Linked DNA regions of Homo sapiens: regions 1, 3, 4, 5, 6 and 7 are each linked to region 2. Evidence: promoter capture Hi-C in 16 types of primary human blood cells and fetal thymus (Javierre and others, 2016). All regions are on one chromosome and are shown on one strand. The core of a region is centred on a gene start or on the middle of the fragment in contact, and the rest is flanking DNA. Distances in the headings are between cores, read along the strand shown. Region 1 overlaps MRPS9 (mitochondrial ribosomal protein S9). Region 2 holds the start of SLC67A2 (solute carrier family 67 member 2). Region 3 holds the start of LOC124908045. Region 4 overlaps PANTR1 (POU3F3 adjacent non-coding transcript 1). Region 5 holds the start of MRPS9-AS1 (MRPS9 antisense RNA 1). Region 6 overlaps MRPS9-AS2 (MRPS9 antisense RNA 2). Region 7 overlaps MRPS9 (mitochondrial ribosomal protein S9).

Region 1 (2,704 bases), core at 85-2,584, 2.3 Mb after region 2:
GTTTGTTAGCCCCTGACTGTGGCTTGTAGAGCACAACTGTCCCTGTGGTGAATGGCTCAGCTATGCTGTATTACTGATTCTTGTCATCTCCCTTGCTGTCAGGATGTCTTATGTCTACGTGTCTGCCTCTAGCCACCCTCACCTGTCTTCCAACCTTCTGGCATAACTAAACTCGTTAAGTGTGTGAATTAAAACTAAAAGCCATTGGACTCTGAATGAGGCCCTACGTGCCCCTCCTAGTAAGTAAAATTCATGAATTTATGTCAGCTATTGCAGTTCTTTATAGGTCTTTTTCATTGATTTCCAGTTTTACAACTTTACTTCAGAGGGTTAAGTTTGAATAGAAATCTGGCCTTGCTGAATACAGCATATATAATTTATGTGTGAAAATTACACCTAGCTAATGTAATATACTAGTGCTTCCTTAATAAGGTTTATTAAAGAGTACAATGTGAGTTGGTAAAAAGGAATAAGATGGATAAAATTTTTTAATAAAAATAATTCTGCTTGTCACTAGTGGTACTTATTTTAAAGTTTTATCACTTAGAAGATTTATCATTATTAAGGCTACAGGATTCTATATATTTCAGAATTTTTTTTTCCAGAATTAGCTCAAATTGGTGCTCGACCTTTTTATTAAGTTTACAAGAAAAATATTATCTTATTGGTGAAAAAGTAAAGTATTATAACTAAAAAGGAATTAGTAATTGGCAGGTATAGAATCTCTTCATTTCAAAGTAGTTTGATTTTTGCCCAGTTTCTTAAATTATATTGAAACAAAATAAACTACCTATTGTTCTTACCCACTGAACCATGATGGTGCTACTGATAACCTTTAGAAGATCTAACAGGAGGAAAAACGGGTAGCCTCTAACAAAATTAGTAGTGTATATGGTGTTATGCTGAAAGTACTTTAAATGCAGGCTAAATATTTAGCAAATAGACCTTAATGCTGTTATCCTCAACTCCTGTTTCATCAGTCTTTCACAGGTTACTGCCAAATGTTGATCAGTGTGTAAAAATTTTTTTTTGGCTGTTAACAGTATACATAACTGTTAGGAGGAATCTGTCAGTTGGAACCTTGAGCTGAGTGAGTCTTGTTGTTTAGTGTAAAGAAAATTTGGTGTGTATGGAAACTGAAGAACTAAGCCCATGAGTGTGTAACAGAGGCAGCAGAAACAGTTTTCCTTATTGACCCCAAGACTAAAGAACAGCTAGGTGAGGAGTGCAGCAAGTGCCAATGGAACTTTATAGACCTTGTAACATCTCCTTGTGCTAGAGCAGACGTGGGGTAACAATGATTGCTAACCTGTTTAGTGAAGTTTCTTAATCCTGTCATGTGTACCATCAAAAATTCTTTTACTCAAAATCATACTGTAAACACCAAAAAGTTGAGGACCACTGATATTTGCATTTTCCTTTTCCATTGAAGCATGTAGTTGTTATAAAGTTTAGTTGGGAGACCTTTCTGTTATATTGAATATTATGAATACAGACTTGCACTTGCGTTTACTAATGTCTTTATTTGGGAATTAAAAGTTAAGTTCTACATTACTATAGAATTTCAGGAAAAAAGCCAGCAAATTGATATATAGCACTCCTGAAGTCTACCAATTACTTTTTAATTGGTATTATAGACCTCATTCTGAAACCAGAATGTTTTATTCTCCTAAGTGTGAATATGCTGTATGAAGTTTCTCTAATTGATTTGCTGTGCCCATTCCATTTGATGTATCATTTTTCACAATATTTCATAATTTGTGCTCACTTCTAATGAACAGAGTCGTTAGGACAGGCATGTCTAAGTACAACTGACAGCTAACATTAGGTGCCAGATGCAGTTTATAGAGCTATGTAGAACTGTAGAGAACAGTTTAAATAAATTAGCACCTGTACATTAGTCTCACTTGCTGGTAATTTATAAGCGAATCAGTAGAGATGACATTTAGGTAAGTCATTGATCAAGTTAACAGCTGCAAACCCACTGCCCAGCTGGGATGCCTAATTAATAGAGATTGCATTCCTGACCCAGTGCTTCTGGGTTGAGTCTGCAATTCTTTCATACTTTGATTTAAGTCTAAGAACATACTCAAATACTTTGCCTTCATTTTAGGGAACTGTTGAATATCAGTATTCTAGTTAAAACCTAAAAATGGAAGAAACATGTTTACTAATGAGGATTACCTTACTCCATTTCTTATTTGGATTAAATTTTTAAAATTTGCATTCTTACTTTTTCTTTCTTTTCTCTCAGCACTTTTTGTTTTGGATTCACATTAAGTATAGATGACATGCTGTAGTTTAATGAGTTTCTTTTTTTTTTTTTTCGAGACAGAGTCTCTCTCTGTTGCCCAGGCAACAGATCGTGCAGTGGCACGATCTTGGCTCACTGCAACCTCCGCCTCCCAGGTTCAAGCAATTCTCCTGCCTCAGCCTCCTGAGTAGCTGGGATTACAGGTGCCCACCACCATGCTCAGCTAATTTTTGTATTTTTAGTAGAGACAGGGTTTCACCATGTTGGTCAGGCTGGTCTCGAACCCCTGACCTTGTGATCCACCCACCTCGGCCTCCCAAAGTGCTGGGATTACAGGCGTGAGCCACTGCGCCCGGCAGTTTAATGAGTTTCTAAAGAGTTCTGTACTTACTAAATATATGCTCCATTTTTTCTTTTGGAAAAAGCATGGTTTTTTGCTTTTGTTCTGTG
Region 2 (2,899 bases), core at 335-2,834:
GGCTTGCAGCAATTTGATGAACATGCTTTCATGGTGATCTTAACTATTAACTCAACATAGAGTTGCTACCAACTGAACGCCTTGCATGGAGGTGGTGGCATGGAGAGTGCATGAAACTGGGAGAAGTGGTGGTCTTGATCTGCATCTGGGCAGAAAACGATGACTCCCTGCCAGGGCCCAGTGCCATCAGATACTATCTTCAAGGCCTCAAAGGCAGCCTTCTCCCATTGACACTTATCGCAGCTTCCTTACCCTCAAGATACTGGATTAGCTCACACTCAGGGCTGAATCAGGCCTAGCCTTGGAAAGGGAGGAGTGCAGAGGTGGATCTAGGGTTCTTGCAGATAATGGCCCAGAAACTACCAACATCAGCTTACTTGTAAGACTGAATTCTTCTGTGGCAGAACTGTGGATTACAATAGTGAAGCTCCGCAGCACCTGCCACATGGCAGGTGTTCAGAAATGCCATGAATCAGCTTACTAAACTTTCCATTCTACGTGGGAAATTAGCACTCAGGGAGCAAACCAGGACACGCGCGCGCGCACACACACACACACACACACACGATGAAACCAAACCGCCATTGTGCAATGCACACCCTTTGTCCAAAGGTAGATGGGTACAATTCACTCTGATCTGCATTTTTAAACATTCAAGTCAACCGAGAGCTCTAGTGAAAATGCACCCAATTCTGTACAAGTGGGGTCATCAACAGCGGCTTCTCCAGCCTGGTCTGGTAAAAAAGCAAACCACAGGCACACACATCATGATGAAACCAAACCTACGCTGTGCAATGCGCAGTTTGTCGAAAGGCAGATGGGTAAAATTCACTCTGATCTGCATTTTTTAATATTTAAGTCAACCAAGAATCCTAGTGAAAATGTGCCTAAATCTGTCCAAGCGGGGTCAAGAGCGGCCTCCCCTGCCTGTTCTGGTAAAAAGGCTTGCGTGTCCCTACCTCACCAGCAGCCGCACAGCAGCTGGGCTTTTCCAAGCTTGCCCACACCCCTGTTCTCCGCCCTGCAAAAGCTGCACCTGCCACAGCATTTAACACCTGGTCACACCTGAGGTTGGTACCAGGGCTTCTCAAAAGGCAGGGAAGGGAAGACGTTCCGCGAACGGGGTGCAAGAGAAAGCGCGAGGGGCAATAAAGCAGTGTGGCCAGATGCAGACTGAAGTGGGTGATAGGGCAAGAGGAGAGCTTGATAGGTAGTGAGGCACTCACCAGGCGGACTGCGGGTTCCCACTCCCTGGGAGCTCCCCGGAAGCTCCAAGAACCGCCTGGGTCCCCAGGCCCGAACACAGTCAGCACTTGCTCCCAGCCCCCACGCTCGCACTCACCAAGAAGCCCACCAAGTAGAGACAGAGCAGGAAGCGGCGGGCTCCGACGGCACCGGAGTCGGCAGCCTCCGCCTCGGTTCCTGTCTTCTGCTCCTGTTTCCGCTCTGCGGTCTCCGAGACCAGCCTCGGGGCCGAGTTCATGTCCCAGTGACCCCCAAGCTCCATACCCGCGCCGGCCGGGGGTCGGACGCAGCAGCAGCCGCGGACCTACCCCGGGAGCCCAGCCCCGCCCCGAGCGGAAGCAGGAGGCGCGCGCCTGCGCAGAGAGAGGGGGCGGGTGCTACCTGGCAGCTCCGCGGGTGCGTGGCCGGTGCTGGCTGGGAGTTCTGGTCTCAGGCAAGGTGGGGACTGGGCACATCATCAATACGGTAAGCACACACCAGTTTGTGATGATAATGATGATGCTCTTTGTTTCCTCTGGGTACAGACCCTGCTGCCCCTATCGTTGGAGGACAGGAGGGAATTGTATTGAGCTTCACTTCCTCCTATGGAGTTGTGCTAGGAGGTGACCAACTCCAGCTTGAAGATCCACAGACCCTGGCCACCAGTTGGTTGTGACAGACCTAGGATACGTTAACGTGGCTCTCCAAGCTTTCGTTTGCCTATTTAAAAAGCAGTAGGAAATAATGTAGTCCAACTTCTAGAGGTGTGAGAATTCTACACATGCTTCTTAAGATCCTTTCTGGTGCAGTGCAATGTGAACAAACCATAGATGGTCTATGCCTGAGTTGAGATTACAGTCTCATGGAGTAAAAATAATAAGCACGCAGTAAATAAACATAAATAAAAATACTAAACATGCAATGAAAAAGCATAAAATAAGTAAAATAATATGGTGATAATATAAAGAAGCACGGTCTTGATGTGGAAAGTAATGAGGTGGGGAGTGAGCTACTTTAGAAAAGCAGTTTGGAGGAGGTGACATGTAAGCTGAGAAGAGTGGAAAGAAGATATGTGTGGCTGAAACTTCCTCATCAAACTGAGAGGTCAGCAGGAGTGCAGACCATTTAGGACCCAGAAGGCCATAACAGAGATTTGGGGTTTATTCTGAGTGCAGTGAAAGGAATTAAGTGAGTGCATGACACCAAAAGATGCCTTTAAATTACTTAGCAAAGCCCATGACACATGGTAAGTAATAAATGTTAACAATAGTGACTAGCCCCTCTTTTCTTTAGAACTTGTTATTTATTCCTCTTTCACTGTGGGATCAAGAAGACTCTGACATTTTACTGAGATTTTGCTCAAAATCTCAATTTACTTGTGTAGGTTGCTAATTCTGAGATCTGTTAAATTCAGTGTTGCAAAGTTTCTCATGGGAGGTGGCACTGAATAGGGAGAAGTGGAATACTGATACTTAGAATTAAGACATATAATTGAATCCAGGTGAAACTGTCAATCGTGAACCCCCAAGTTATTCTGAGACTCCTTTGCAGGAGAACTAGTTTGCTCTCCTATAGCTGAGGAAACTAGTCTTTTTGTGCTTGAAATTTTGTGAGTAACTCATCTGGGAAAGGCGCCTTGAAAGGGCTGCTCATGTTAACCCATTAAAACCACTCA
Region 3 (2,729 bases), core at 131-2,630, 2.1 Mb after region 2:
AGAGTTGTCCAGAGGAAGGTGGAATCAAGTGTGAATCATCTGTGTGACCCAGTGAGCAGTGAATAAATATGAAAAGTGCAGAATACACCTGAGGTATGTCTGGAGCTTTGTAAGGTCCTAACACTAGACATGATTACATAGGACAAAAAGAATGATCACTGCTGCCCATGTTTCTTTATTGTAGCTACAAAATAATGGAATGGACATTGAGATGGAAGCAAAAACTTTTTAAATTTTTTTTCTTTTAAAGAAAAGGGACAAGAGGTGTTCTGATGAGCTTCCTGGGAGACCACACATTAGCTCTGTCCTGCAGGACTGCCTCTCCGCATAAGGCAAGCCCATTAAGTCGGCTGGAACATTGCACACTGAAATAGAATAGATGTTCATTTCAAAGAATTTTCCTTGAGCCAGCAATAAAATAAAAGGTGACAAAACCCACCACGCTCATTGTACCCAGGTTTAGACAGGGAAACTTCCAGGTGTGAGGGGGGCTAGCCAGATTTGTTCCTTTCTGCCCCTATCAAGGTCTCAGAAGGAGGGTGAGTCTGTGTTTCACTTACATTTCCAAGGTTGAAAACTCTCCTGCAGAGTTAAAAATAAATTAAATAGGTCTAATCAGAAAGCACAGTATCACCCAGAAACTAACCAAATGAAATGTCTTAGTAGCTTGGTCTTGAGAATCTTTAGGTGACAATGGTGAAAAAGCCATCACAGAACAAAACAACATCTACAAACTATTTTAAATTACCATTTCATGGGGAGAAATCTTTCAAATTTCAAAATCGCTCAGGCAAGTCTACTGATTCTACTTTGTACGCCTTAAAGACTTATGCCAAGCACAGCTTTAAAAACGTTTCACTCCTGAAAGAAGGTCTTTAACTCTTCCAATAACTATTTAATAGTTGTCCTGAATGTTTTTAACAAGAGACGGGTATTAAGTGAGTGGCCTTGAGTCCCAAGCAGTCTGGGGGAATAGAAGTGGTGGACACTCAAAGGCACGGAGCAGCCTGCACCTGAAACGGGCTTTCTGCTTTTCGGTGAGGAGGGGCGGCCGAGGTCAGCAGTATTTACATATGTACCTGATCCCACGGGCTTTCCTCTATTTATCAAAGAGGAGGGCCTGCAGGTGAAGGGGTGGAAGTGAGGGGAGAGAAAGACCAAAAGAGAGATCAGTTACCTTTCCCCTTTGTTCCTGGGCCTTGAACTGGGGCTTCAAGGAGGGGAATAAAAGCCCCCAGGGAATGAAGCTTCCACCTCCATTTGCATCATCCTGACACCCCCGCCAGAAAACCAAGTGCTGGCTGAGTTGGGGCAAAATGGTAACTTGAGGAATCCCAGTGTGAGTGTGTTACATAACATACAGAATCCTCTGTGGGGAGAAGTGCACTCACTTGATTTTCTCCAAATGACTGTGTGCAGGCGGAAAGCCCTAGAAAGGAGGATTGAAGACCAGTTAAATAGGAAGACTGTGGGGAAATGGGGAAACGTGTAGCCATATATGACAGGGCACATGTAAGCTTGTGTGCAGGTAAAGTCATACCTGCACCATCTGTGTGCCAGAGCATCCTTCAGAGATCCTGCCTAGAGCTGCACGTTGGCTAAGCAGGAGTCCATACTTTACAATGGTGGTATGGTGGGGGCAGTGGTACCCAAGACTACTGGGACCTGGCTGCCCTGTGGGGTAGTAGGAGCCAGGTTAGTTCACAACTGTGTCATCCTCAACCAGCTCTTTTTTGTCAGAACCCTCAAATCCTTAGCCTGGGTGGGCAGATTACCCCCTCCTCTGTGCGCCCTGCTGTGCCCACCGCAGTCGCCCTGCGGTGGCAGGAGAGCTACTCATTCAGCAGTAGCAGCATTGCGCCGCTGCAGCATCCCGAGGTCACATTCAGAAAGCCCGTTCTTCCAGGACAGCATCGCCCCAATACTGCAGGCGGGGCGAACCGTGTTTATCTGCCCCAGGCACGGAGGGGAGATTGTAACCAAAGGAAAAGAATCTCGCAGAAGGGGATCTGGAAGAGGGCAGTTGATCCTGGGCAGATCCCCTGCGCCGGGCCCTCTCCGCTGGGGGCGAGCCCGGAGGGAACCGAGGGGCCCGGGAGGGGGAGCTGCTGAAGGCGCGCAGGCTGACAAAGCTATAACAAAGGCTCCCTACAAAACTAGTACTAAGGATCTTTAAAGGATCACACACCTTGCAGGCGTGTCCCCAGCTCCCGGGACGCAGAGCCCGCTGACTGTTCCCCCGGGCTCCGCAGACGTGCCCGGGTTGTCAGAGGTGTGGGGCTGGAAGTCCAGCGTCTCGGCCTCTGCCCCTGCGCTCCCACAGGCCTGAGCGGGTAGGGGTAGGTGCCCGCGCCTGGGCCCGCGGGGCTTTGGTCATGGCTGTTCCCCGGGAGGCTCAGTTAGGCAGCAGCCTTGCTGGGCAACAGGCCCCGCCCTTGGTTAATCCGGGAAGGTCGCGGGCTGCAATCTGGCCTGACGAGGCAGGCCCTGAAGTCTCCCCGCTGGGCGATCAGAAGAGCGTTCGAGAAGCCGGGAGCTGGTGGGGTTGGCAGGGCGTCTGAGTCACCCGAGCTGCAGAACGGACGCCCCCACGACGCGCTGTGGGCACTCACAGCGGCTAGTTGGGCATTTCCCAGCAGCCAAGGCTGCGCACTCCGCCCCCGCTGAGGTCCCCTTTGGTTCCCGAGGACCCAGCTCCTCCCGCCCCTCTACTCGGCGCCCCCTGCCAC
Region 4 (2,896 bases), core at 263-2,762, 2.1 Mb after region 2:
GTCAGGGCCACCCCTAAGCTCCTTCCTGCTCACCACAGACTCCTCCAGCAAAGGCCTCTGAGGCCACAGGTAGAAGCCCAAGCAATTCTGAATGTGGCCACCATTTGCCTTGGGCTCACAGAAAGCTCACCAGAACACAGGCACATGTTCCAGAGACCTTGCCAAGTCTTTTCCATTCTCCCAGGCTCCGCATCCTTATTTTCAAAGTGGAGACAATATGAATACCTGCTCAGTCTAGTGTGTCTGGTGATGACAAAGGGGACGGATTGGTTCGTGAAAGCACTTCATGAGGTCCAGGCAGTGGGAGGGCATCTCAAGCTGCTTCCCTCTAGCTGCAGGCACGTGGCTAAACACCAGACCCCATTCTCCCCACTGTAGCTTGGTCTTGCAGTGAAAACAAATCTAAATGGAAGTGACTTTTTATATAATAGAAATTGAAACCAAAGTTTAAAAATAAAATAAAATGGAATGTTTCTGAGCATGCAACATCCATCTACTGTATTTGTTTTTTGCTCATTCAGCACATTTGTATTAGGCGCTGAGTGGAGGCAGAGGCACTCCATCACTGGATTTCTGAGCACACTACTTAGCCTTTGCACTTGGGAGAAAGTCCAACTCCTGAACAGGAAGCCATCCTCTCACACCGCACCCTAACCCAGCAGCCCAGCTCATGGCTCTGCAGATGAACAGGACACGCATCCCGCTATTCACTGTCAGCCTCTCTGCTTCATCCTCGACTTGCCTGAAATGTCCTGTGCTCAGAAAGACCTGTCAGAGAGCACCTCCGGTCCAAAGCGGTCCTAGCCCTGATCTTCACCCTCATGCCTAGTGGGTTTCCTGCGGAGCCATCATTGCCACGCGTGGCGATACTCTGTTGGTCTGGGATCTCCTGTACCATCTGTCTCCCCAGCTTGACTGTGACCTTCAGAAGAGCAGAGGTCACCTCAGCCTTGTTTCTGCACTTCAAGCCCCGGCACAGTGCCTGGCCCATGAAGGACACAGGAAACAGGGTTTTGCCTCAAAGCAGCTCACCTAATATAAAGCAACACAAAACCCCACGCAGTCAGGGCTTTGTTTCACCTGCTGCAATGGCAGCCCTTGAACTGAAGGAGAAGAAAAGTTTTTCTCTCCTCTACCAAGCTCAAATTCTTTTTTTTTTTTTTTTTTAAGACAGAGTCTCACTCTGTCACCCAGACTGGAGTGCAGTGGCGCGATCTTGGCTCATTGCAACCTCTGCCTCCTGGGTTCAAATGATTCTCCTGCCTCAGCCTCCAAAGGAGCTGGGATTACAGGCACAAACCGCCAAGCTCAGCTGATTTTTGTATTTTTAGTAGAGGTAGGGTTTCGCCATGTTGGCCAGGCTGGTCTCAAACTCCTGACCTCAGGTGATCCATCGGCCTCAGCCTCCCAAAGTGCTGGGATTACAGGCGTGAGCCACTGCGCCTGGTCCCAAGCTCAAATTATTTCCCCTGCAATTAATCTGTGCCTCCTCCCTGCGAGGTGGCCACCCTCACCTGATCTGGCAGGAAGACCTGTGTTTGCTCCCAGCCCACAGAAATGTCCCACCCGTTGGTCAGGGTCCTTCCTGTCAAGGAGGTACGGCTTCCCCTTGTCACCTAAGTGTCCCCTTATCTAAATGTAAGATGGTGATAAGCCTGGTGCCATGAGAGGTGACTGTCAGGTGGTCCCCCTAGGACTCCCCTGCCAGAGTTAGCCTGAGCTCCAGTGACGGCCCAGAAATTTAGCTCCCATTACCTCATGAATTCCCCACCCTGTGTGCTGCAGAGTGGATGATGGCAAGCAACACTCACAGCATAGTTTATATTCGTTTAATTTTTCTTTATTTTCAAACTAGAGAATATGTACTTACTGTAACAAGCAAAACAATACTTAAAAAGGTGAATAAAAGCAAATATAATTATTTCTTCCTATCCCACTTCATTACCACTATCTCAAGAACACCAAGGGCATGCATGCATATGCCTATATCCATGTATAATATATAAAGAATAAGCCAGGCACGGTGGCTCATGCCTGCAATCCCAGCACTTTGGGAGGCCAAGGCGGGCGGATCACCTGAAGTCAGGAGTTTGAGACCATCCTGGCCAACATGGTGAAACCCTGTCTCTACTAAAAATATAAAAATTAGCCGGGCGTGGTGGTGCACGTGCCTGTAATCCCAGCTACTCCGGAGGCTGAGAAGGAAAATCGCTTGAATCTGGGAGGCAGAGGTTGCAGTGAGTTGAGATCATGCCCTTGCACTCCAGCCTGGGTGACAGAGCGAGACTCCACCTCAAAAAAAATTAAAAAGTAAAATAAAATATATCTCTAATATATAGCATATATATTATATATACTACACATACCTTATATATCATTTTACATAAGTGGGATCATATACATGCTGGGGGAATTTTAGTGCCGTATTTTGTCTTTATGTAATTATCTATTTTGCATGCCTTTTGCAGGTGTGGTTCCTCCAGGGACTCATTGGAAAGCGCGGACGTCCTGTGGCCATGGGATCACACCTGTCTTCAGTGGCACTGTTTCCCTGTTTGTTCTTGAACACGCCTGCTGCCTTGGTTACACTGGCCTACTGGTGAGTCTTCAGAGAAGTGGCACTGCTGTTTTTTTCTTTTCTCCGTTGGTGGTTTTGGGACATCTGAGATGTCGCCTACTCCCACTCAGTCTCTTTTATTTTCTGCAGTTCCTCTGGCCTGTCTTGTTCCCTGCTCTTTCTAATTGGCTCTCATTTCCAGCTGCCAGCCCCTGCATTGCTTCTGACCTTGTCTATTTCCAGAGACCTTCCCAAAGTCACAAATCTCTTGACAAAAGGCTCCTTTCCCTTTCTGTATAGAAGCCTCTCCCTATCCCTCCTCAAACAAATCTTACCCAA
Region 5 (2,812 bases), core at 72-2,571, 2.4 Mb after region 2:
GCCAATAGTGCCAGCTACTCGGGAGGCTGAGGTGGGAGAATCGCTGGAACCCAGGAGGCAGAGGCTGCAGTAAGTCGAGATTGTGCCACTGCACTCCAGCCTGGGTAACAGTCAGATCCTGTCTCAAAAAAAAAAAAAAAAAATCCATTTCAATGCAGTTATTTTAAGTAAAAATATTGCTTCAAGAATTAGACCCTCAATGCTCAATTATCCTTTATATAAAGAGTTGTATGCCACTGATTTCTTCATAAGTGTCTTTTTAAAATAATCTTGAATAAGTTCTGAGACATGTATATACACATCAAATCCTTTATGAGGTAAAATAAAATAACATGGTGATGAACAAGTGAGAGTGAGTACCCAGTACCCTGCGGTACCCAGTGCCCTTTTCATTTCAGATGAAACTGTAGAAAATACTTTCTGGGGTTTTTTCTGTGTGGCGGTCATTCTCTAGTGAAATTGTCTGTGGCAGGTTTTGGTCGGTGGTGTTGATTTAGCCTGTATCTGTTGGAGTATACTTTTTACCATTTTGACAAGAGAGAAGTGACAAGTGGTTACCCCACGTGGCGTGGGTGTGCTGAGATGGGATGGCGGGCAGCCCTGCCGGCACGGATCGCCCGCTTGCTGAGCTCTTGCCATACCTGGTGTCCTGGGGCAGTGCAGAGCTGCCTGAAGTATATGCCATCTGGCCCTGCATCAGCTACTGTTGGTATCGTGGAGGAGACAAAGTCCTCAAGTCTAACGGGAGACCTGGAGTGCTGCTCGTACAGTGCCAGGAGGAGAGCTGAGGAAGGGGGCCCTGAGGACAGTAGCACTCTGAGGAGGAGGTGGTGGGGAAAAAAGAGGCCATGAAAGGAGAGGGTGGGAGTACAGATGGAGAAAATGGCGAGAAAGGAGGAAGGAAAGTTCAGGAAATGTGCAGGGAGTGAAGCCAGGCGGGCCAGGGCATTGCTGGGGAGGGACGAGGTCCCTGCGGAAACCAGCTGGGAAGGAGGCTGAGGTGGATTTGTGGAGGGTCTGAAATTCATGGTGATGTTCCTGCACTGCCAAAGGGGAATCAGCCTTTTTTTCTCCTTTGAGAGAACAGATGAGGGTTGAAATTAGAACTGTGTTTTTAAACTATATTTTAGCAACCTTTAAAATATATGTATATATATATTAAGTAGAGTCATAGTGCATAATATAACAACAAAATCGGAGCCTTAACTCTCACCTTCTTCTGGGCCTCAGGAACCCCGAGCTCATGGGAAAAGTCTTGAGGATCTCCCCATCAGGAAGGTCACGGAGGGACTGCAGGAGCAGGGAGTTGCTAGAAGGAAGAGACCTGCCAGGCAGCTATTGTACATGGAGGGGATGGGACCCAGTGCAGGGAACAGAAAGGAAGTAGGTGTGAGAAACGTTGCCACTCTCACCTGGACCAAGTGCGATAGCTGATTGGCTGCAGGAGAGCTGGGGGCGGGTATTCGGTATGAGATCCACAGGCTGCTGGGAATGCAAAGAGCCAGGAAGACAGGAAGAAAAGTTGATGGGAGGAGGAGGAGACACCAGAGGGGTCGGCTCGGGTTTCAGGTGTTCGGGGCCACCTCATATGAGATGCTTGAAATAATTGGACTGTGACTCAGGCGACGGGTCAGCCTGCTGACAGATTTGGGAGGCTGCTGCGTGGAAGGGGAATTTGAAACGTGGGCTGGATCAGCACGGAGGATTGGGCAGGGAGAAGGCCAAGGCTCAAGTGGAGAAACAGCCATCAAGTTTAAAGTAGGAAGGAGGGAAGAGCCAGCAAAGGGGGTGGTGAGCGGTGATAGGAAGACAGCAAGCCAGGCACAGCGGTCAGGGACGTCAGTGATGACCAAGAAGCGGCCTCCAGGAGAGGCGAATGTTACAGGTGCCTTTCCCCGTGAGGTCTGGAAGAAATACTGGCTTGTAACCTCGCAGGCCACTGTACCCCTTGAGTCTCAATTTCTTTGAGTCAAATTGGGGTCATTTTCTGCCCTACCAGCCCCATCTGCCCTTGTGTGACGATCAAGTAAGATAAGTGTAAAACCACCGGCCATCTGCTCCATTCCAGCTGTAATAGGAACTAGACTGTGGACAGTGTTGATGTGAGGCCTCCAGGGAAGAGGATTAAAGTATATCGGAGCTCTTGTTCCTTTGTTCAGGCTTGACACAGTCTCCTTTGTCACCAGGTTTGTTAACCACAGGAGCACTGAGCTTCTCAGACATCCCACACCTTTGTGGGAAATACCTGTTGGGAAGTATTTTTGACACACACTGTGTGCATACATTGGGAAGAGCTCTCTAGTGGCTATTTTTTTTTAATAGGCATTTGACAAGATTATTGCCTTAAGGCGACAGTGAGAGCTAATGCTTCTGTAGCTCCTATTCTGTTCCAGATACTGTTCTAAATACAAGTAACGCATTCGATCCTCTCAGCCAACCCTATGAGGTAGATATTGAGAAAATTAGTGCTCAGAGAGGTTCAATAACTTGCCCAAAGTCCTAGAGCTAGTGAGTGCCCAAGCCAGGTTGGAACCTAGAATCCCGGCTCCAGAGCCAGTGCTCTGAACCACTGTGGAAGAATACCAGGCGGGCTATGACGGCATGCAAGCCAGGCACACAGCCTGTGCTAAAACCGTCTGTGAAAGGAGAGAAGACTGCATTGGTACAGTCAGAAGACTTGATGGGAGAGGTGGATGTCAGCCAGATCCTAATGGATGGGTGTTGATTAGTAAGCACTATACTATGCTCTCCAACCAAGCTAGAACCCTCATCTTATTCAGGAAGGCGATGTCATAACCACTCCATCAAGCTG
Region 6 (2,778 bases), core at 115-2,614, 2.2 Mb after region 2:
TATTATGGGGGTTGAGAAGTCCCACGATCTGCCATTTGCAAATTAGAGAACCAGGAAAGCTGGTGGTGCAGTTCCAATTTAAGCCCAAGTCCTGAGAAGCAGGAGAGTCAGTGGTGTAAGCCCCAGTCTGAATCTGAAGGCCCCCAAACCAGGATCTCTTGTTTCTGAGGACAGAAGAAGCTGGATGTCTCACCTCAAAAAAAGAGTGATTTGGAATGTGTTTTTGTTTTGTTCAGGCTCTGAATGGGTTGGATGATGCCCATCCACATTGGTGAGAACAAATCTTTGTTGCTCCGTCTGTGGATTCAAATGCTAATCTCTTCTGGAAACACCCTCACTGGTACACCCCCAAATGATATACTACCAGCTATCTGGCTATTCCTTAGCCCAGTCAAGTGGACACATAAAATTAACCATCATGCTGGTCTTTCCAATCCTATTCCTATCCCCTTTCAATCTATTCTCCAAAAAGCAGGCAGAGTTAGTCTTTAGGAACTCAAATGGGGCCATGCCCTTTCCTTATCGAAAAGCTTTCAGAAGTTTCCATTTCACTTACAGTAAAATAAAAAATTGGTTAGCAAAAATTACAAGGCCCTCTGTGATCTCATCTCTGGGTAGCCCAATAGGTTCAGTTGGTGCCATCCTCCTTGTTCACTCTGCTCTCGCTGGTGCCTGCTGCTCTTTCTTGTTGCCTCTCTCTGAAATGTTCTCTTCCCCATGTCTTGCATATACAACTCCTGCTCATTCTTCATCCCTGGGCTCAGGAGTGAAAGAAAGAAAAGAAAGAAAAGAAAGAAAAGAAAGAAAGAAAGAAAGAAAGAAAGAAAGAAAGAAAGAAAGAAAGAAAGAAAGAAAGAAAGAAAGAAAGAAAGAAAGAAAGAAAGGAAGGAAGGAAGGAAGGAAGGAAGGAAGGAAAGAAAGAAAGAAAAGAAAGAAAAGAAAGAAAGAAAGAAAAACACACATAGCAGGTCCCTTCCTTTGCCTAATGGCCTAATGTTCCCTACCAATGAAGAACGGAGACCAAATCGTCTGAGCATGGAGCCAGTCTGAGATAGAAGTTAGAAGCTCTAAGAGCCTCTCCCATTATGGTCTTTTCTTCATCCATGACCTAAACTCCAAGGAAATCCTTCTAGAAATAACTTCTGAGCACCCACAATGATGTGTATAAATCATGACACCAGAACTTGCGGGAGATACCCAGAGAGCACGGCTTCTCCATCAGGGAGGCTACATTCCAGGCAGCAAGGAGCTGAGTGTACACAAATGAGTCTGATGTGAGGCAGGAAATGTTAGGTGACGTACGTGAAAAACCAGCAAAACAGGACAGGGTTCAGAGCAGGAGAGAGTGCTTCTCTTGAGACCAGTCAGGAAAGCTGTCTGAATTAAGGGATTGTGTTTTAACTGGACCTCGGAAAACAGTAAAGAGCCGGACATGTGATAGAAATGTCTACCAGAGGGCTTCCAAGTGGAGGAACCAGCAGAGCAGAGGCTTGGCACCACAACGCTGTGTGTTAGTGCAAGAAGGAATATTAGGAAACCTACTAAAAGTCCACTGGAAATCTTTGCTTGGTGAGGACAAACAAATATATTTCAAGGAATGCTTTGTTTATTGTGTCCTGCTAATCTTGTCGGAACCATTTCATTCCACGTGAAGAGGTGAATCCACATTTGGGAATGTGGATTCCCAAAGAGCTCAGGGAGATACCTGAGCTCCTGGGCTCAAGAGTCACTTCCTCAGAAGATCCCTGCCTTGCTCTCCCCTTCCCTTTTCCCCAGCCTAGAGAAGGTCCTCACATTGTTCATTTCTTTTCAGATCCTAATCATAACTTAAAATCCAAGTGTGCTTATTTAGTTAATATCCTGCTCCCCTCTAGAAAGTAAGCCCCAGGAAAGTAGGAATATTGGATTTTTCTTTTTGTAACTAGCTGTTGTATTCCTTGTGCCTAACACAGGGCCTGACAAATAATACATACTCAATAAAGGTCTGCTGAATGAATTAGCGGTGCAATAAAATGTTATTAGACATAACTATCCTCAAAAGCCATTGCCATCCCCTGACATTTTTGTTAGCCAATTTTGACCCTTTGGGCCCAATTTGTTGCCATCTTTCAAGCCACTTTCCCTCTCGGGTGCCCTTTTCTCTCTCACTACCTGCTGGCTGCTGACATCCAAAGTCACTAGTTCATCCTCTGCCTCAGATAAGCTTTGCACCGCAGTGGACCCTAAACTAAGCACCAGGCCTGCCTTTCCACACTCTGAAATTCACTGCGGTGATCTGTCAGACTAAGGACTCATTCATCTGGTCTCTACCTTTAACACCATGGGAGGACCTATGTTTGGGCCCAGGTTCCTCCAACACTAGTTTCTATAAGTAAAGAGAATATTGTTTGATTAACGTTCTTTTCCTTTTCCAACCTCCTGAACAATTTTAGAGCCATTAAAATTTTACTTCCCAGCACATATGTGGTCTATGTGTAGTGTGGTCATAGGACAGGGATTTTGTCCCAGAATTGAGAAAAGCTTAGCCACTTTAAGGGGGAGTCATCCAAGTGCCAGATACAATTTTGGCTAACCAGGCATGCCCTGCCCTTGCTGTATGGAGCATGCGTTCCAGCGGATGATGGAATAAGTGGAGGGGCTTCCCTTCCCATGGACTCAATAAACACTGAAATGCTGATTTTCAGCAAATTCATCTCATTGGTTAAGTTCCCAAAATATGCCAAAATATTTTAAAATTCAGGGCTGTAGGCTTTATATTATGAATATTTCATTTCTCAT
Region 7 (2,700 bases), core at 40-2,539, 2.3 Mb after region 2:
ATATGAGATTTATATAGAAAATTATGATAACTCAGTTAAAGATCAGAAGTGAAAATCTGAACAGTTGGAAAAATTCCATGGTTCTCTAAGGGAAGACAATATTCCAGAGTTGCTGCTTTCTAAATTATTGATAAATTGAATATAACTTTACTTAAAGTTTTGGCACAACTTTTGGGAGAAACTTGTCAAGTCTAGTTGTGCAAGAAGCAGTGGGAAAAAAAATTGTTTTAAGTAATGAAGTAAGCTCATCATACCTGGTATCAAAACCCAGCAAAAAGCTCTGCTAATTAAAATGGTGGTTACTGACGCAGAGTAGACAGACCAATGAGCAAAGTCCTGGCAGCACGTGTTTGTGCCTTATTCAGTTAATTCTAAGACTTTTTTTTTTTTTTTTTTCAAATTTTAATGTCTGACAGCAGGGAACACTTCACAATTTTTGTAAACTATGATACATATCATGGTTTGACAGTATTTTTTCTCTTTCTTTGTGATATATAAAATACATGATGAGGCATCTTAAAATCTGTGATACCTTAGGTTCGGTGAAGTCAAGTGTGTGTGTGTGTGTGTGTGTGTGTATACATTCACATATGTAATGAAATCAATCCCATGATATGAGACTCAACTCAAGCATCTCTCCAAGCTTACCAGTAGAGTCTTGTCTGCAGCCATGATGTTTGTCATTTTTTATCACTTTCTGACGGACTAACCATACAGTGAAAATCAATTGCATAAGAAAAGAAAAATATTAGAAAATATGCCGGATTTGATTCATGAAGTCTATGACAATGATTTTGGAAAAGTGCTGAAATCAACCATAAGCCATTAGCAAATAAGAATTTGGTTTTTCAAGCTAAATACCCAAGCAAGACTTTCTTTTTAGCATTTATTATGAAAATGTGGTCTTTGTTTCAGAAGAAAGACATCCTACATATAATACAGGTGGTATTTCAATAGAAAAGCATGTACTATTCAAAAAACTGTAGAGAGATAATGACTCTTTACTGAACAAAATAGTTCTTGGATTTCTGCCTCACAAACATAAATTCCAGATAGATTAAATATTTGAACATGAAAATAAAATAAAAATTCCAGAAGAAATACAAGAAAATAGTTTTAGAGAGCCCAAAGCCTTAAAGCATGTTTCCTCAGTGGGGGCAAAGACTGGTTCACGGGGGTGGGGAAACCTAACTGTTACAATGGTTTGTGGCCCTCCAGTGGGCCACAGTATACTTCAGCAGATGTGTAGTGTATCTGTGGTATTAACATTTCATGCGGGGGCGGAAATTAGGGAGAAAATGCCTATAAAGGATTCCTTCATGGGATGAATCATGAAAAAACAAGTCATGCTGCCGTAGAGGAAAAGCGACAGATTTGACTATTTACATATTTTAAACTTCTCGATTATGAAAGGTAACATAAGTAAAAGTAAAAGGCAAGTGACAGCCTGGGGGAAAATAGTTTACAACTTCTGTAATGGACCAGGAAGTATAATCTGCTTCAGAGAAACAACAGAGATAGTATGCGCAAAGGACACAGAGTTAGCATACAACAGAGATAGTATGCGCAAAGGACACAGAGTTAGCATTCGTCTTGTTTCTTAGACTAACACCACTTCTCAGTTTGCTTGGTGGTGGTTAGTTAGATATGAATGCCCATCTGTATTTCAGAAGGAATTACACCCAACACCTTTTTGAGGCTTTTCTGTTGTTGATGTTTTAAACTCTCGGAGGTTGATGACCACTGGGTTGAAACAAATGATGTAGCATAGAAAAATACATTCTTTAGTTTTCATTTGTTTACCTGTTTTAGATTCTCTGAATGCACTGCATTTTTTTACTTTATCAGTTTTCCCTTTTAAAAATATGGGAGGGAGTTATGTTTATGGCCAAACCTAAATTTTTTTATTCTAACAAGATGATTTGGGCTATTTTATAAGCTTTTATTTGAAACAATACAGAAATTCTCATAGTGAAATATTTAGTAATTTTTAAATTAAATGTAAACATTGTTTTATGTTAATGGTATGAAATATTTAATATCCTAAATATTTGCATATAAATATGCTAAACTAAATATTAAAATTCTAAATGTTGGTGATTTTTTTGTATTTTTTATTACTCAATTATAAATGTGTCTCATAACTGTGGTTAAATGCAGCTATTTGGTCTGTCTCTGTGTATATTTTTATTTGCTTTCATCTGGCTTTTTTAAATCAGCAATCCAGTGGGGAGAAGATGGCCGTCCATTTCACTATCTCTTCTATACTGGCAAACAGTCATACTATTCATTAATGCATGTAAGTATATTGCATTTATGATAAATAATATGAGCTGTAAGCTACAAAACTAATTATACTGGATACTGTTCGCAGCTTCAGAATTTACCTAGTATTTTATAATTGACAAAAATAAGACTTCTAGAGGTAGGACAGTGTGTTGATGAAATGATTTATAGTAATTCATTTTTGCTAAAGGTGAACTTTATAGAGTTTATATCAGAATGGTTTGTCTTTAAAATGCTTTTACTTAGAAATTGAAATCATGTTCCAAGATAGATGTTCAACTCAATTATAGTGTGTACATGTGCTTCCAGGGTAAAGAAGGAGGAGGCCAAGTGTATGATGCTGTCGGGGGCTGTGAGGCATTTGCCTTGAAAAAGAATCAAATGGTTATTTCTCATTTTTTGTTGTTTTATATA

The links. The method cuts DNA at HindIII sites, captures the fragments that hold promoters and counts their contacts. A CHiCAGO score of 5 or more calls a contact.
Region 1: a fragment that was not itself captured here is called in contact with the fragment with the promoter of SLC67A2 in region 2 in 1 of 17 cell types (M2 macrophages); the score reaches 8.6 in M2 macrophages.
Region 3: a contact is called between a fragment that was not itself captured here and the fragment with the promoter of SLC67A2 in region 2, in 5 of 17 cell types (total B cells, M0 macrophages, M1 macrophages and 2 more). The highest score is 13.6, in total B cells.
Region 4: a contact is called between a fragment that was not itself captured here and the fragment with the promoter of SLC67A2 in region 2, in 2 of 17 cell types (M0 macrophages and M2 macrophages). The highest score is 7.1, in M0 macrophages.
Region 5: a contact is called between the fragment with the promoter of MRPS9-AS1 here and the fragment with the promoter of SLC67A2 in region 2, in 1 of 17 cell types (M2 macrophages). The highest score is 6.5, in M2 macrophages.
Region 6: a fragment that was not itself captured here is called in contact with the fragment with the promoter of SLC67A2 in region 2 in 1 of 17 cell types (total B cells); the score reaches 5.4 in total B cells.
Region 7: a fragment that was not itself captured here is called in contact with the fragment with the promoter of SLC67A2 in region 2 in 1 of 17 cell types (M2 macrophages); the score reaches 8.6 in M2 macrophages.

Annotation. Positions count from the first base shown.
Region 1 is chr2:105,056,366-105,059,069 of GRCh38, forward strand. The region is part of intron 2 of MRPS9 (mitochondrial ribosomal protein S9); the gene reads left to right. Among named protein-coding and RNA genes, the nearest start is that of MRPS9-AS2, 19 kb to the left of the region's middle. The HindIII fragment of the contact is 3,624 bases long and covers 1-2,704 here.
Region 2 is chr2:102,735,304-102,738,202 of GRCh38, forward strand. It overlaps SLC67A2 (solute carrier family 67 member 2), which reads right to left and starts at 1,585. Exons shown (of 6, transcript NM_032718.5): 1 at 1,343-1,585. The coding sequence starts at 1,507. It also overlaps a transcript of TMEM182 not described here. RefSeq lists a silencer at 1,492-1,701. The HindIII fragment of the contact is 937 bases long and covers 995-1,931 here.
Region 3 is chr2:104,865,251-104,867,979 of GRCh38, forward strand. It overlaps LOC124908045, which reads right to left and starts at 1,951. Exons shown (of 2, transcript XM_047446880.1): 1 at 1,178-1,951; 2 at 1-365. LINC01159 (long intergenic non-protein coding RNA 1159) reads right to left here. Exons shown (of 2, transcript NR_110373.1): 2 at 247-2,729. It also overlaps a transcript of POU3F3 not described here. RefSeq lists a silencer at 2,301-2,595. The HindIII fragment of the contact is 270 bases long and covers 1,246-1,515 here.
Region 4 is chr2:104,815,822-104,818,717 of GRCh38, forward strand. The region is part of intron 1 of PANTR1 (POU3F3 adjacent non-coding transcript 1); the gene reads right to left. Among named protein-coding and RNA genes, the nearest start is that of PANTR1, 34 kb to the right of the region's middle. The HindIII fragment of the contact is 9,510 bases long and covers 1-2,896 here.
Region 5 is chr2:105,101,623-105,104,434 of GRCh38, forward strand. It overlaps MRPS9-AS1 (MRPS9 antisense RNA 1), which reads right to left and starts at 1,322. Exons shown (of 4, transcript NR_110227.1): 1 at 1,214-1,322. LOC105373527 (a long non-coding RNA gene) reads left to right here and starts at 135. Exons shown (of 3, transcript XR_923138.3): 1 at 135-2,812. RefSeq lists enhancers at 1,878-2,739, 2,740-2,812. The HindIII fragment of the contact is 13,539 bases long and covers 1-2,812 here.
Region 6 is chr2:104,978,728-104,981,505 of GRCh38, forward strand. All of the region lies in intron 1 of MRPS9-AS2 (MRPS9 antisense RNA 2), which reads right to left. Among named protein-coding and RNA genes, the nearest start is that of MRPS9, 58 kb to the right of the region's middle. The HindIII fragment of the contact is 1,673 bases long and covers 529-2,201 here.
Region 7 is chr2:105,077,764-105,080,463 of GRCh38, forward strand. MRPS9 (mitochondrial ribosomal protein S9) reads left to right here. Exons shown (of 11, transcript NM_182640.3): 5 at 2,220-2,299. Among named protein-coding and RNA genes, the nearest start is that of MRPS9-AS1, 24 kb to the right of the region's middle. The HindIII fragment of the contact is 1,296 bases long and covers 642-1,937 here.